Regions from separate parts of the Homo sapiens genome. Here regions 1 and 2 are each linked to region 3. Evidence: promoter capture Hi-C in human tissues and cell types (Jung and others, 2019). All regions are on one chromosome and are shown on one strand. Each heading gives the region's core, a stretch centred on a gene start or on the middle of the fragment in contact. The rest is flanking DNA. Distances are from core to core; before and after follow the strand shown.

Region 1 (4,385 bases), core at 569-3,068, 220 kb after region 3:
CTCCCCACAAGAGCAGAGCAGTGGGGACCTGGAGCGGCTTGGATTTTTGCGGCTGAGGTTGGGCTAACAGCAAAGACTGGGGAGCTGCCTCCCTTAGGGGAGACTCCAGATGGAATTGTCAGCTGTGGCAGACCCAGGGCAGGCAGGCTGAGTTCTAGGGGAGGGAGCAGTTACAGCAGAGGGAGCACCGCTTCCTGCTCAGGCACCCCCACCTCTATAGGTAGACCGAGCAGCAGCTTACGACCAAACACAGTCCCCAGTGAGAGGCAAGAAAATCGAATTTCAGTTCACTTCTCCATCATAGCCAAGTGGTGAATACTATAACAAGAATGACACCGACCAACCCTGCCTATGAACCAAGCAGTGTTCTAAACTCTCCCGCGTGAACTCAATTTGCAACCACTCTTTGGGGCAGGGAGGCATGGCAGGGGCTCTTCTGTACAGCACAGAGACTGCCTGCAGATTCTATATCATCTGAGGTTGCACATAATTCCATTCCACCCCCAGGCATCCATCCTTGTTCATTTTATTTGAGAAAAAAAAAAGTCCAAAATATTACTCTTTTGTCCCCTCTTTTTACAAAACGATGAATGCTCAGTGCCCACGTTTCAGGCATCACAAAGAAATGACTTAAGTTCAAGGTCAAGAGACAGTTCTGTCCCCGCTGACCCAGAGATGTCCTTTGCTGATGCTCTGGGACGCCTTTTCAAGATGCTGTCTGGGGAGGGATGAAGTCAGAGTTTTGATCTCTTTAAAGTTTGATTTCTTTACCAAAGTACCACGTTTCTATACCATCTGTCCTGAAAGTGTCTTTGGCTGGGCTCACCATGTTCCCTGGCCTGTGGTCCTCTGATTGGAAATGGGTTTTCATGAAACAAACGGAAGGGGAGGGTGGGCAGACTGGAGAAGTTTGTAGCCTGTTTCTGGTTTTCTGCGACTTTCATTCTGGCCCCTCCTGGCTCTGTCATCCCCGGTCCCATCAGCACCGTCCAGACCAGACCTAGCGTAGCAGGTCCACACACCCGGGATGGCTCAGCACTGACCCTGCCTTCTCTTGCTCCCCAGGGAGGGCTCCCGGAGTAAAGCCTGAGGAACTCCACCTTTACAAGGTGATCTTCAGCGTTCAACAAACTTTGCTTCTCTGGCCACCTCCTTAATCAACTGCAGCCTTTTTCTATTTCTAGCCTGAAACAAACTCCACAAACACTGGCTCTTTCTTCATCTTCCTCCCTTTCCAATGATAATACTGGACAAAAATGGGACAATCTGTAATTTTTGCCCATTTTCTTAGGAATTTTTCCCCTCTAGTTAAAAATCAATCAATCAATCACACACACACACACACACACACACACACGCACGCACGCACGCACGCACACCATGAATTGAGTCAGGGTTCCCTCTGATCATCCCCACCGCGCTCTTCCTTTTGTCTGAAAGGGGCTGGGCAATGATAATTGTGCTTCTGGGGTGAGAGGTGTGGTGTGGGGGGATTCGCAGCAGAGGCTGCGGCAGCTGGTGGGGGGTCCTCCTTCCTGGTCCTCCGATGACTCCGACGACGACGAGGAGCTCTGAAGGGAGACCAGGAGGCGTCTCCACTGACCATGGGGCCCAGCAGCGCGGGGCCCGGGGCCAGCCCCGACCTTCCCCTCCACCAGCGGACGGACCCACAGCCTGAAGGCGGCTGGCACCAGAGGGGCCCCGGCAGGAGCCGATGGGCTGCGAGCGCGCTGGCGAGGGGCGCAGGAGAATGGAACGGGGACAGGGGAGAGGCAGAAGGAGGAGGAGAGGGAAGCCTGGAGAAGAGGAGAGCGCAGAACTGAGGAGCGGGGCAGAAAACAGAGGGAGAGTTGCAGACCGGGCTGAGCTGCAGCGGAGCGCGGGAGTGAGCGGCGGCGGGAAAGCTGGGGTTAGGGGGCCAGGACGTCGCGGGCGAGGGGCGGTGGTGAGTGCAGCCCAAGGGCGCACCGTCCCTGCAACAGCTTCGCGGGCGGGAACAGCAGGAAGGAGTGAGCCTTGGGCGGGCGGTGGGTTTCAGAGGAGGGAGGGCCGAGCAGCTGCAGGGGACAGAGGGGCAGAAAGACAGGGAGGCGGGGAGAAGGTAGGGAGCGGTTCTGGGTAACTACTTCGCTTCGGAAACCGCCCGGGTCTCAGGCCCCAAGGGCATCCCCCTCCTCCCAGATCCCCGTCTTGGGTCCCTGGACCCAAGTCCCGTGGAAGGCGACACCCGCGTCCCAGACCGCCGCGGCGGCTGCTGCCCCCACACGTCTGGTTCGGCTGGCTCTCCCCTGCGAGGGTCGGGGTTTCTGGAGCCCTGCGCACTGGGCTCCCCTTGCCCGCAGCGCCCCTGCGGCCCCTCCTCCCGCTGGCCTGGGATCCCGGAGACGCAGGACGACCTCGGTGCGCGAAGGGGCGGGGGGCGCGTGGGGTCCCTGGGGGCACACCTGCTCACTCATCCCTTCCCGTCTGAGGTCTTCGCTGATGCCAGCTTCACAGGCACGGGCATCAAGGCCCTGAGACGGGAGAAAGGGTAGGCCTCGCAGGTGCACGTGGGAGAGGCTGCACCTAAGCCCCCGCACCAGCCCTGGACCACCAGGGCGCAGGGCCCGAGGTGCGTGACAAAGGGGTGACCTCACCTGTAACAAGTGAACAAGCGTTGACACCCGCGCAGGCTCCAGTGTTCCAACGGCGGAGTCATATGAATCATCCTGATGCTTAATAAACAGATCCCAGAAGGAGCCTGGACATATTAGATCAGAACTTCCCAGGGAGCGGCCCAGGGATCTGGATTTCCAGTGCATGCCCTGCGGTGACCCTCACTCCAGAAAGCTCAGGCCCCACTGAGCTCCAGTGTTCTATCTCCAGACATGGATTACACCCGGGGCTACACAGCGAGACAGCGAACCTGTGCTGGGTCACCAGGTTGAGGGTGGTGGTGAGGTTAGTCTCAAAGCCCAGCCTAGTGGGGCTTCATGGCTCTGTTTTAGCCAAGGGGCTCTTGGATTGTCCCCGGAGGGGTCAAGGGTCTTTCCGCTGTCCTATTCAAAGTGTTTTAGGGTGAAATAATCATGATAATAGTCACAGCACCTGCTACGAATGAAGCAGGCGCTTATAGTCTAGAGAGCTACGGACTTTTGTGAATATTCTGTTTTAATCCTCACAATTGACCTTGGGAGGAAGGTACTATTTATCATCGCACTTCACTGATATGCAAACTGAGGTGCGACCAGGTTATTTTATTTTCTCCAAGTCCTGAAATGGTGCGCTGGGGCTCCCCAGCTCTACCCACAGGTACCTGCCTCCCTCCGGAAGGTGTGGACAGCACAGTGGTGGGCGGCCCAGCCCGGAGGGGGGACTTTGTGCTTCCATAGGAAGGGGTCTCAGAGCCTAGCATCTGGGTGTCCACCCAGGAAGGTGGGTGGGGCACAAGGTGGTCTCTGTTGTCCCTGCAGCTTCTGGGAACCCAGATGAAAGGCAGGAGTGTGGAGCACAGACCTGGGGTCTCTGTAGAATGTGCTGGAGGGTACCAGGAGCTAAAACTATGTGGAGCTGGGTGGGCCCAATAGAGGAGAAGGGAATAGGGGAGGGAGATTCATGAACTAAGTCCAGAGGTGGGGGATGGGAAGGGGAGGAAAGAGCTGATGGCTTTGGAACAGTGCTACTGAGAGAGGCAGGCACTGGGTCTCGGCACCACAGCGTGCCTTTGGTGGTCTCAGGTTCCATACAGGAACCCTGAAACGAAACAGGGAATGCCCTAAAGTGGCACCTCATATACTCTCCAGGTTTCTGGCAGCTCAGCAGTTGGGCTGGGGGTGCTTTCCTGTGCCCAATCCCTGGCACCCTTCCCACACCACCCCCACCCCCATAATGCAGCAGCAGAGAACCTCCATCTCACCGATGGGGGAACTGAGGCCCAAAGAGGTTGAACAGGGAGCCGATGGCCTGGAGCTTGCCTCCTTCCAAGGTTGTGAGTTGAATGGAATGGTCCGAAAGCCGGAGGTGTCCGCTATGGATCACCACCCTAACACTAAAACAGCAGCGGTATGACATTTATCAGATTCCTCCGAAATGCCAAGAACTGTGCTGGCAACTTTGCATTTTTATCTCATTAAATTGTCATGACAATCCTATGAAGTACTCTTAGTCTCCCTGTTTCACAGAGGGGGAAACTGAGGCTCCACCTGGAGGACATTTCTTGCGCTGGCTCTTTAAGAGTCTATGCCGGTGCTTCCAGCAGATGTCCAGGTTCTCCTCTTGGCATCTTACCCTGCCTCCCCCATGACCAGCTGAGTTCTAGTTGGCCAACTTTCATGAGACAGGGTAGCAGATGGGCATCTGGTACCCAGATCTCAAAGCTAGTCATGCCTGCCTCAGGGGTCTCGCCA
Region 2 (4,160 bases), core at 872-3,371, 140 kb after region 3:
TCTTTGGGTTCCACACATGTCAGCGTTCCCACCCGTCAATCAGTCATCAACTCAAGTATTTGTTAAGCCAGACACTGCCCCAGGCTAGTAATAATAATAACAACAACAATGACCACAATAGTGAGGATCTTAAAAACTCCCTGGGCTCAAATGCATCCATAACCTCATTTAATGATCACAACAATTTTTTGAAATGGATACTATTGTTATCAGCTTTTATAGATGAGAAAGCTGGGTCACAGAGAGATGAAAGGACTCACGCATTGTCATGTAGTAAGTGTTGGAGGCTGAGTTTGGTAACTTACGTGAGCCCATCTGCCTAGCTCTAGACCATTTTGGCTCATGGAGGGACATGCGGGTGGAAAGTACAGAGTGCTGACCATCTAGGCTTAGTGATCTCAAAAAGAGACATGAAGAAACAGTTTGCCTTCTTCCATTGGAAATTATGAAAGCAGCAAATGACAGCTGGAACCATGGCAACCATTTCGTGATATGGAGGAAGTGGCTGACATACTGAGGATGGTCATTTATGGAAGGAAATGGGCCCAACTGTTTACACACAGCAGAAAAAAACAAGGAAGTGTAGGGACATAATTAATAAATAAAAATACAAAAAAAAAAAAAAAGAAATACAAGACTCTCTTGTTGGCCTTGAAGACACCAGCTGCTATGAGCTTTATAGCTTCAGGGGAAACAATTCTGCCAATAATCTGAGGGCACTTGGAGGAGAATCGTTCCCCAGTTGGGTGTCTGATGAGAATGTGGCCCAGCTGACACCCTGACTGAGCCTTGTGATACCCCGAGCCGGGCACCAGCAAAGCTGCACTCAGACTCTTGACCCACAGAAACTGAGTTAATAAATGTGTGTTGTCTTAAGCCACTAAATTTGTGGTAAATTGTTACACAGTAATAGAAAAACAATACAATGCTTATGGCTAGAACATTTAAACAGTACAGAAAGGAAGACTATGCGAGGTCCAAGTCTGGCTCGTCTCATTCCCCTCATCTCTCTGCAGTGCCTGATGTCCCCTTTCAGAGTCTCTCTAATGTGCATGATAGCCTCAAAGGTGGTAAGGGTTTGTTTTCATGTGTATGTAAGTGATTTCCCCCTTTTACTGCAATAGAATATGTATTACACATGCCTTAAAGAAACCTTTTTTTTTTTAATTTAGCAATGCATTTTACAGCTCTTTTTATTAGCTCTCTCAGGCCTCCTGGATTCTCATTCTTTAATGAAAATGGGTCTGACTAGACCTTTTCCTCCTCAATTCAGAGCATTTTCTCTGGAGAAATGGACTGCAACCAATCTTCCCATTCCAATTTCCGACGGGTGAAGGTTTGGTAGTACCGGCGATAACACTGACTTTCAGGTCTCTGAAAATGATTAGGTCAGCTGATGGATGCTTAGAGCCTATAAAATTCACGAGGCTTCAGATTGTTTCCAGACATTCCAGAGGGAAGAGCAGTGGAAGGATCGTGAGCTTCAAGGCTGTGCCCGCAGAGGAGGAAGAATATGTCACTTCATGGAGGCAGGAGAGGGAGAGAGTAAGTGACTCCACTTTGCTGCTGGGGTACTTTGGCAATTTGAATGCGTTTCGTTGGATTTGTTTTAATTACAAAAGGACCATATGATTCTTTAATTAGCCCAGCAATTCAGAAGCAGATACATTTTAAAAGACAAGCTAGAAATTTGCCTATATACTGGTGAAAGCACACCAAGGGATATGTTCAGGAATAGAATTGCAACATTGCTGGTCATCACCCCCAAACAGAAAGTCTCCCAAAGTCCATTCAAAGAGGACCAGTTAAATACAGCACTTTACTCCCGCATGTGAGGATACCGGACAGCTGTTAGAAACAAAGATGTGCTGGTGTTTAGATGTAGTGAAATATTGTGCAGCAGCGAGAATGAATGAGTCACAACCACAGGCTGCAACACAAATGAATGTCACCTACTCAATGTTGAGTCAAGGAATCTAGAAACAAAAGAACATACTGTATGATTTCATTTATGTATAAAAGCATGAACATAGGCAGAGGGAATGAATACTGTATGGAAGTCAGGATAGTGGTTACTCCGACAGGGCAGGTTTCAGAGAAGGGAGGGCTTCTGGGAGTCGGTGATGTCTGTTTCTCAATTTGGGTGCTGGTTACCTAGGTCACAGCAGCCCCAGGAGACCCATACTGTGACCTAAAGAAGAAAATCCATCTCCCACATGAGCCAGCATGAACACATCCGTGGCAAAAAACGAACATGAGCATGTTCAGTTGACAAAATTCATCCTGTGGCACATTTATGATACGTGTACTTTTGTGTATTTCAATTAGAAATTTTAAAATGTGGTACCTCTTGTAATGACAAAATGCGCCCACATTTGTAACTCAAAACATAGCACATTGTTACAAAATGGTACACTTAGAAATCCAGTGAAAATGGCTATGGATGATTCCAAGTCCCAAAATAAAATAGTTTCATTAAAGAAGGAATTCAGGAGGCCCAAGGGAGCTAATAAAAAAGGGTCATAAGACGCATCCTTAAATGGAAACAGCAGCTTGCGGCCAAACCAGGAAGAACAGAAAGAAGTATCAAGGAAATACAGGTTTGTGTCCTAGCAACAGCCCCAGCTCATATCTCTTTGGCTAGAATGGTGTCACATGACTACTTCTAGCTGCAAGAGAGCCTGGGAAATGTACACTTGCTGAGTTCTGTTGATGAGGAGACAACTGAAAGGATCTTGAGGACATAATGAACTGTCTCCACCACGCTCATAAAAAACAAGACTCACAAAATGCATCTGTTTTCAGTGGGTCACCAGGGATGAGGAAAAAAGGTGCCTTCAGGTTTGAAGTCTGGGTTCTCGGAGGCCTGCACGTGTCTTCTTGACCATCCCATTCATGGGTTCCAGCCACCGGGACTTTCAGGATTGACTGACTATTCAGAGTTATTAGGAATTAAAGCAATTAAGGGCAATTGAGACCAGGAGGAAGAGAAATGACCATTTCTCAAGTACCTCCTGCATGTAAAGCAGTGTGCCTCTGGAAGTTCTCACAATGCCACATGCACCACAAGGCCACATGCACCACAGCCTGGAAAGTGATTTTATAGACAAGGCTACTGGCGGTGAGCACCACGTGCTGATGATGGTAATTTTTATCCGGTGGGTCTTTTATCGGGTGGGTATTTCATGCTGGATGCCACACATCCATGCCCTGTGCCTACATCCCCATAACCATGGTTCTGTGAAGGACGTGACCCTTGGACAAGCAAGGAAAGGAATCCCAGAGAGGCTAACAGCCTGCACAAACTCAAACAGCAGGAATTGAGAACTCAACTCTGTCTCCAAATGTCAGCTCCCAGCCTGCCACCACCCCAACTATCAGAGGCAATTTAGCAGGTTACGGGCCAAGTGGGCAATGCCCTGGAAGACTCTGGAAGGAAACCGAGGACCCAAAAGGTTAAGGAAGCTGGATAAAGCCACACAGTTGCTGGCAGTGGGGGCCAGTACTGAAACCCAGGTCCACTTGATTCCACGGATCGTGCTTTCCCCACCGTGTTCCTGTACCTTTTTCTGTCCATTCACCTGACCCTGGTGGAGCCAAGCAAGCCCTCAGCCCTAAGAGCCATGGAGGGCCAGGTTCTGCATGGAGAATGAGCTCCACATTTCTGGTGCAATCAGTCCTTAGGCATATTAAGGGTCAACCGAAGGGCTCCCCAGAGAGACCCAGAGGTCTGGATTCACAGCAAGGACCCTGTGCCGCCTGCTCCTCCCTGGATCAGATCCTTTGGGCCTCCCATGGTCCAGGTTGCCACTAGGGCACATATGTTGTGCATGTCCACATGTGTGGTGCCTATGCTGCCCGCCACATCCGTCCTTGCTGAAAGATGCACCGAAGCTGGCAGAGACAGCACCTGCAAACGGACCCATGGTGTCCTCTAGCCGCTCTCGGCTGTCGGCTTTTGTCCTGGGCCGCCCTTGCTAATGAGGAGCCCAGGGAAGCCCAGCCGTCATGCCTTGTTATCTTCACTCCTTCTCCAGAAGATCTGGTTTCCCGTCATGTCTTGCCCTGGCCCCTCACAGGCTATTGTGGAATATACAGAGACGCAAAGCTCTTTCGGGATGATTTATGAACCCCTTGCTGGGGGCCCATCTGTCTCCAGG
Region 3 (4,145 bases), core at 194-2,693:
AGCCCTCCAGGCAGCCTGAGGGCCACCACCAGGGAGGGACAGCCATCTGGCCAGCGCTGGGAGCCTTGGGTCCATCCCAGGATCTTTCCAAGCTGTGAGGGGACTTAAGGGACACAAAAGGACTTAGGGCACTGGGGTCTGGGACATCTGGCTCAGGACCAGCCTACCTGGTCAGGCCTGGAGCAGCTGGCAGCTGGAGTTCGAACAGAAAGAGAAACAGATTGGCCCAAACTAGGGTCAAGAGCGGTAGTCACTCTTCGAAGGGGGAGAGGTGGGGCCAAGAGACACCTTGGGGAGCTGGTGCCTCCCCTCAGCCTTGGGGTTCCGACCACAGAAGTGGAGGGGCTCGCCCCAGCTGGGTCCCGCTGCCACTCAGACTCGACTTCCCGGGGACCAGGGCGCCCTCGGCCTCCCCACTCACCTTGCAGCTCGGCTGGGGCGTTGTGGCTGTTCTGGTGCAGATACGGCTGCTCCAGGGAGTGCGTGGAGAGGCTGCCGGACAGGGGGTTGGCCGCGGGGTTACAGGGGGACAGGGGCTGCTGCTTGATATAAGAGGCGCCGCTGTTGAGCGCCGCGGACGCCGAGGGCGGCCAGGCCGCCGCCGAGCCCGAGTAGACGGCGTGCGGCTCCATGACCCCACCGGCGCCGGTGGGCAGCAGCGGGGAGGCGGGCACCGAGCTGTCGTGGTGCGGGTACTCGCCGGCCGCCGCGCCGCCGCAGCCGCCCATGTACGAGTGGCCGCCGTTGGAAGGCAGGTGGGGCACCGAGTGGCTGGGCAGGGCCATGCCGTCCACGTTGCCCGGCAAGTGGCCGTTCATCATGCCCAGGCCGCCCTCCAGCGCCAGGCTGTTGGGCGGGCACGAGAGGCCGCCGGCCGAGCCCTGGAAGCCGTAGGTGTCCGGGAGGTGGTTGAAGCCGAGCCCGTTCATCATGCTGTACATGGGCTTGAGCGCCTGGCATTTCCTTCGGAAGCCGCGCGGCCGCCGCCGAAAGGAGCCCTCCTCGAACATGAACTCGCTGGCCGGGTCGATGGTCCAGTAGTGGCCCTTGCCGGGCCGCCCAAGGCCCTTGGGTAGCTTGATGAAGCACTCGTTGAGCGAGAGGTTGTGGCGCACGGAGTTCTTCCAGCCCTGGTAGGAGCCCCGGAAGAAGGGGAAGCGGCTCTGCAGGAACTGGTAGATCTCGCTCAGCGTCAGGCGCTTGGTGGGTGAACTCTGGATGGCCATGACGATGAGCGCGATGTAGGAATAGGGCGGCTTCTCCGGGCGCCGGATGCCGGCGTTGGTCTTCTTGGCCTTGGACGGGCCGGACGACGCGGGGTCCATGGCCGCGCCGCCTCCCCCGCCGCCGCCGCCGCCGCCGCCGTGCGGTGGCTGCTGCTTCTCGGGCGCCGAAGACATCGGGTGGCTGCTGCCGCCGCCGCCGCTGCCGCCGCTGCTCTGCGCCGCGGACGGGCCGGGAGGAGGAGGAGGAGGAGGAGGAAGAGGACGACGGGGGGGAGGAGGGCGAAGGGGAGGGGGCTGCGCGCGCGGGGCTGGCTGCACCTCTGCCGTCATCGGCGGCCACTTCTCCCGAGCGAGCCGCGGCGCGCCCGCCCCCGCGCTCCCGCCCGCCCTCCCCGAGGAGCTGCTGGATCCGCCGGCGGTTGGCTCAGAGCCCCTCTCTCTCCAACTCCCGCCTCCCCCACCTCTCTCCTCCCTCTTTCTTTCTCGCCCTCCCACAAGGAAAGGAGCCGAGCTGAGGCCGAGGGCAGCCCGGGCGAAGGCCGTGAGGAAGCTACCCCCGCCGGTATTTTTTGGGGGGAGGCACCACCTCCAGGTCTTACGGCCGTGCGCCCCAGCCGGGAGCAGCCCTGAGTCCCCGCCGCCCGCGGCGCTCGGCTCCGAGATTCCGGGCGAGGCAGCCTTCACTCCATCTCCGCTCGGCTGCGTCTCGCGGGTCGGCCTAAGACCCTCCCGGAGTTCCCTCCCTCCGTCCCTGCCCCCCTCGGGCCCCCGCGTTGGTGGGCGCTTAAAGAGCCCCCACTCTCGCCGCCCCGCGGCCGCCAGCAGAATCCGCCCCGCCTCCACCAACCTGGCGAGCAAGTGTTAATGCGCCCTCCGCCCGCGGTTCAGCCCCGGTGCGCGCTGGACCCCGCCTTCCCCGCCCGGGCGGCGCGGCGGGAAACGCTCCCTGGGCCGGGGCCTTCCCCGACGCGCACAGCCCTGTAGCAAATCGCAAGTGCGGCGGCCTCCCGGTCGTGACCATCGCAGGCACAGCCGGCTCGACTCCGGTCCTCGCGGCCGGCCGGCTAAGTTCCCGCGAGGGACCGCCTACCCACTCTCCCCGCCCCGGGAAGAACTGCGCCGCTCCCGGGATTTTTCGGACTCGCCCAGCAGCTTGCGAGCGGGCGGGCAGCCGCCGGGGCAGAGCGCAGGCGGAAAACGAAAGCGCAGCACGAGTCGCGGCCGCTTTGTCTCGGGCGCCGCGGGCCTGACGGGGGCGAGTGAGAACCCGCTGGCCCAGAGGCGACCCAGACCGCACAGGCCCCTGAATAAGCGGCGTGCTCAGTCACTCACCCGTGCGCGCACACCCTCGCGCTCTTGTCCACACATTAGCACACACATACATGTCTTGATGCACATGCAAACCCGGTAAATTACGCAAACAGACGTGTAAACACACCCATGCGTGTGTGCACACTCATATGCAGAGGGCGCTCAGGCATGTGCGCACCCACTAATGCACTCGTTGACACGGAAGCTTAAGGCCCACAGGAGCTTAAGTTCGCACTCACTCCCACTCACGCGTACACACGCCACGCTCGGATCTGAACTCACACGTAGTTCAGTTGCCCTCCCCCACCCCCAACACACACTGAAAACCCGCCTATTTGGCCCCGCGGCCCCGTTTTCAAAGCGCAGGTTCCGATTTCCCGAGAGATGGCAAAGGCCCTGGCAGGAAGTTTACAGGGTTTAACGTAAACAAGTTCTGGGGGATTCTTTAATAATAATAATAGAGAATTCCGCGTGCGCAGGGCGGGAGGGGGGAGTTGGCCTAATGCCCCTGTGGGCTCGGCCTGCCGCCGCCGCGGGGCCTCTGACACTGCGCGCCAGGCCAGGTTCCTGAGAGCAGACAGCGCGGGCTGGGAGCGCCGGCAAGGGCGGCCCTCGCGCACCTGGCTGCCAGCCCGCAGGGGGCTCGCACGCAGACCTGCCCTTGCCACCTCAGCGCTCGGGTGCGGGCTGGGGGCGGTGGAGCCACGAAAGGTGGTGCCGAGAGCGGAGCGCAGGACAGCGCAGGAGCCCCGGCGCATCGCGGCGCGCACAGACCCAGGTGAGTGCTGCTCTCGCAGCGACTGCTGGCCGGGCGCGGCCTCTCCCTCCAGGGTTCCGAGTTGAGAAGAGGGGGGCGAGGGGTGTTTTCGCGGGTCATCGCGAAGAGCCTAGAGGCCAAGCCCCAGCGCGAGCTGGGGCGAGAGGCGTGTGCCGGGCTCGCAGCACGGCCCGCGGCGCGGCGCGTTCAAAGCCTACCCGCCTCTCGGTTTTCTCCGGACTCCTTGTCTCCCGCTAACTACCCGCCCCCACCTTCCTGGCTCGGACGCCTTCATTTTCGGCGGGAGACGCCTGTCGCCTTCGGGGCGCCTGGCACGTCGGTGAGAGGAGCTGGGGGGCTCGCCGGCGCAGCCTGCCGGGCAGTCGCCGCCTCCTCCGCCAGATCTGCGCTCGCGGGAGAAGAGAGCCGCCTTCCCGCGCTGCCCTTCCGCTGGCCTCTCTGGGTCTCCGCGTGCAGACAGCCTGGCCCGCCTAGGGAAAGAATGAGTGTGGGACGTGACCCGTAGTGTGTGGTTGTGCATTCACGCAGGTAAACGCTCTCTGGCAGACCCGCTACCACTTCACACAACCAGCTCAGCCTCCGCGCACACAGACACGCTCCGCACCGCCCACGGCCTCAAACACCCTTCCCAGCGACCCTCACACAGCTCAGGCGCTCCCAACCCTTGGACCAACACACAGGCCTGCCCAACGGGGAGGGCACACTTTGGTTTAAGTGCACACTTCATGCACGCCCACATGTTCTCCACTGCGCGTTCGCCCACGCATAGCCAGGCGCCACGCGCAAATAATCATAGGTACCGCCGCTCCATACGTGCGCACGCGTCCACG

Evidence for each region. The method cuts DNA at HindIII sites, captures the fragments that hold promoters and counts their contacts. A contact is called where the count stands out against the background at its distance.
Region 1: a contact is called between a fragment that was not itself captured here and the fragment with the promoter of FOXF1 in region 3, in 3 of the 25 tissues and cell types used here (H1 embryonic stem cells, mesendoderm cells and neural progenitor cells).
Region 2: a contact is called between a fragment that was not itself captured here and the fragment with the promoter of FOXF1 in region 3, in 1 of the 25 tissues and cell types used here (H1 embryonic stem cells).

What each region holds. Positions count from the first base shown.
Region 1 is chr16:86,284,609-86,288,993 of GRCh38, reverse strand. LINC01081 (long intergenic non-protein coding RNA 1081) reads left to right here and starts at 2,747. Exons shown (of 6, transcript NR_104139.1): 1 at 2,747-2,940. LINC02135 (long intergenic non-protein coding RNA 2135) reads right to left here and starts at 2,563. Exons shown (of 3, transcript NR_038438.1): 1 at 2,445-2,563. RefSeq lists an enhancer at 3,158-3,843. The HindIII fragment of the contact is 9,125 bases long and covers 1-4,385 here.
Region 2 is chr16:86,373,328-86,377,487 of GRCh38, reverse strand. No RefSeq gene overlaps it. Among named protein-coding and RNA genes, the nearest start is that of LINC00917, 30 kb to the right of the region's middle. RefSeq lists an enhancer at 1-310. The HindIII fragment of the contact is 9,034 bases long and covers 1-4,160 here.
Region 3 is chr16:86,507,825-86,511,969 of GRCh38, reverse strand. FOXF1 (forkhead box F1) reads right to left here and starts at 1,443. Exons shown (of 2, transcript NM_001451.3): 1 at 422-1,443. The coding sequence starts at 1,400. FENDRR (FOXF1 adjacent non-coding developmental regulatory RNA) reads left to right here and starts at 3,110. Exons shown (of 4, transcript NR_033925.1): 1 at 3,110-3,315. The HindIII fragment of the contact is 9,827 bases long and covers 1-4,145 here.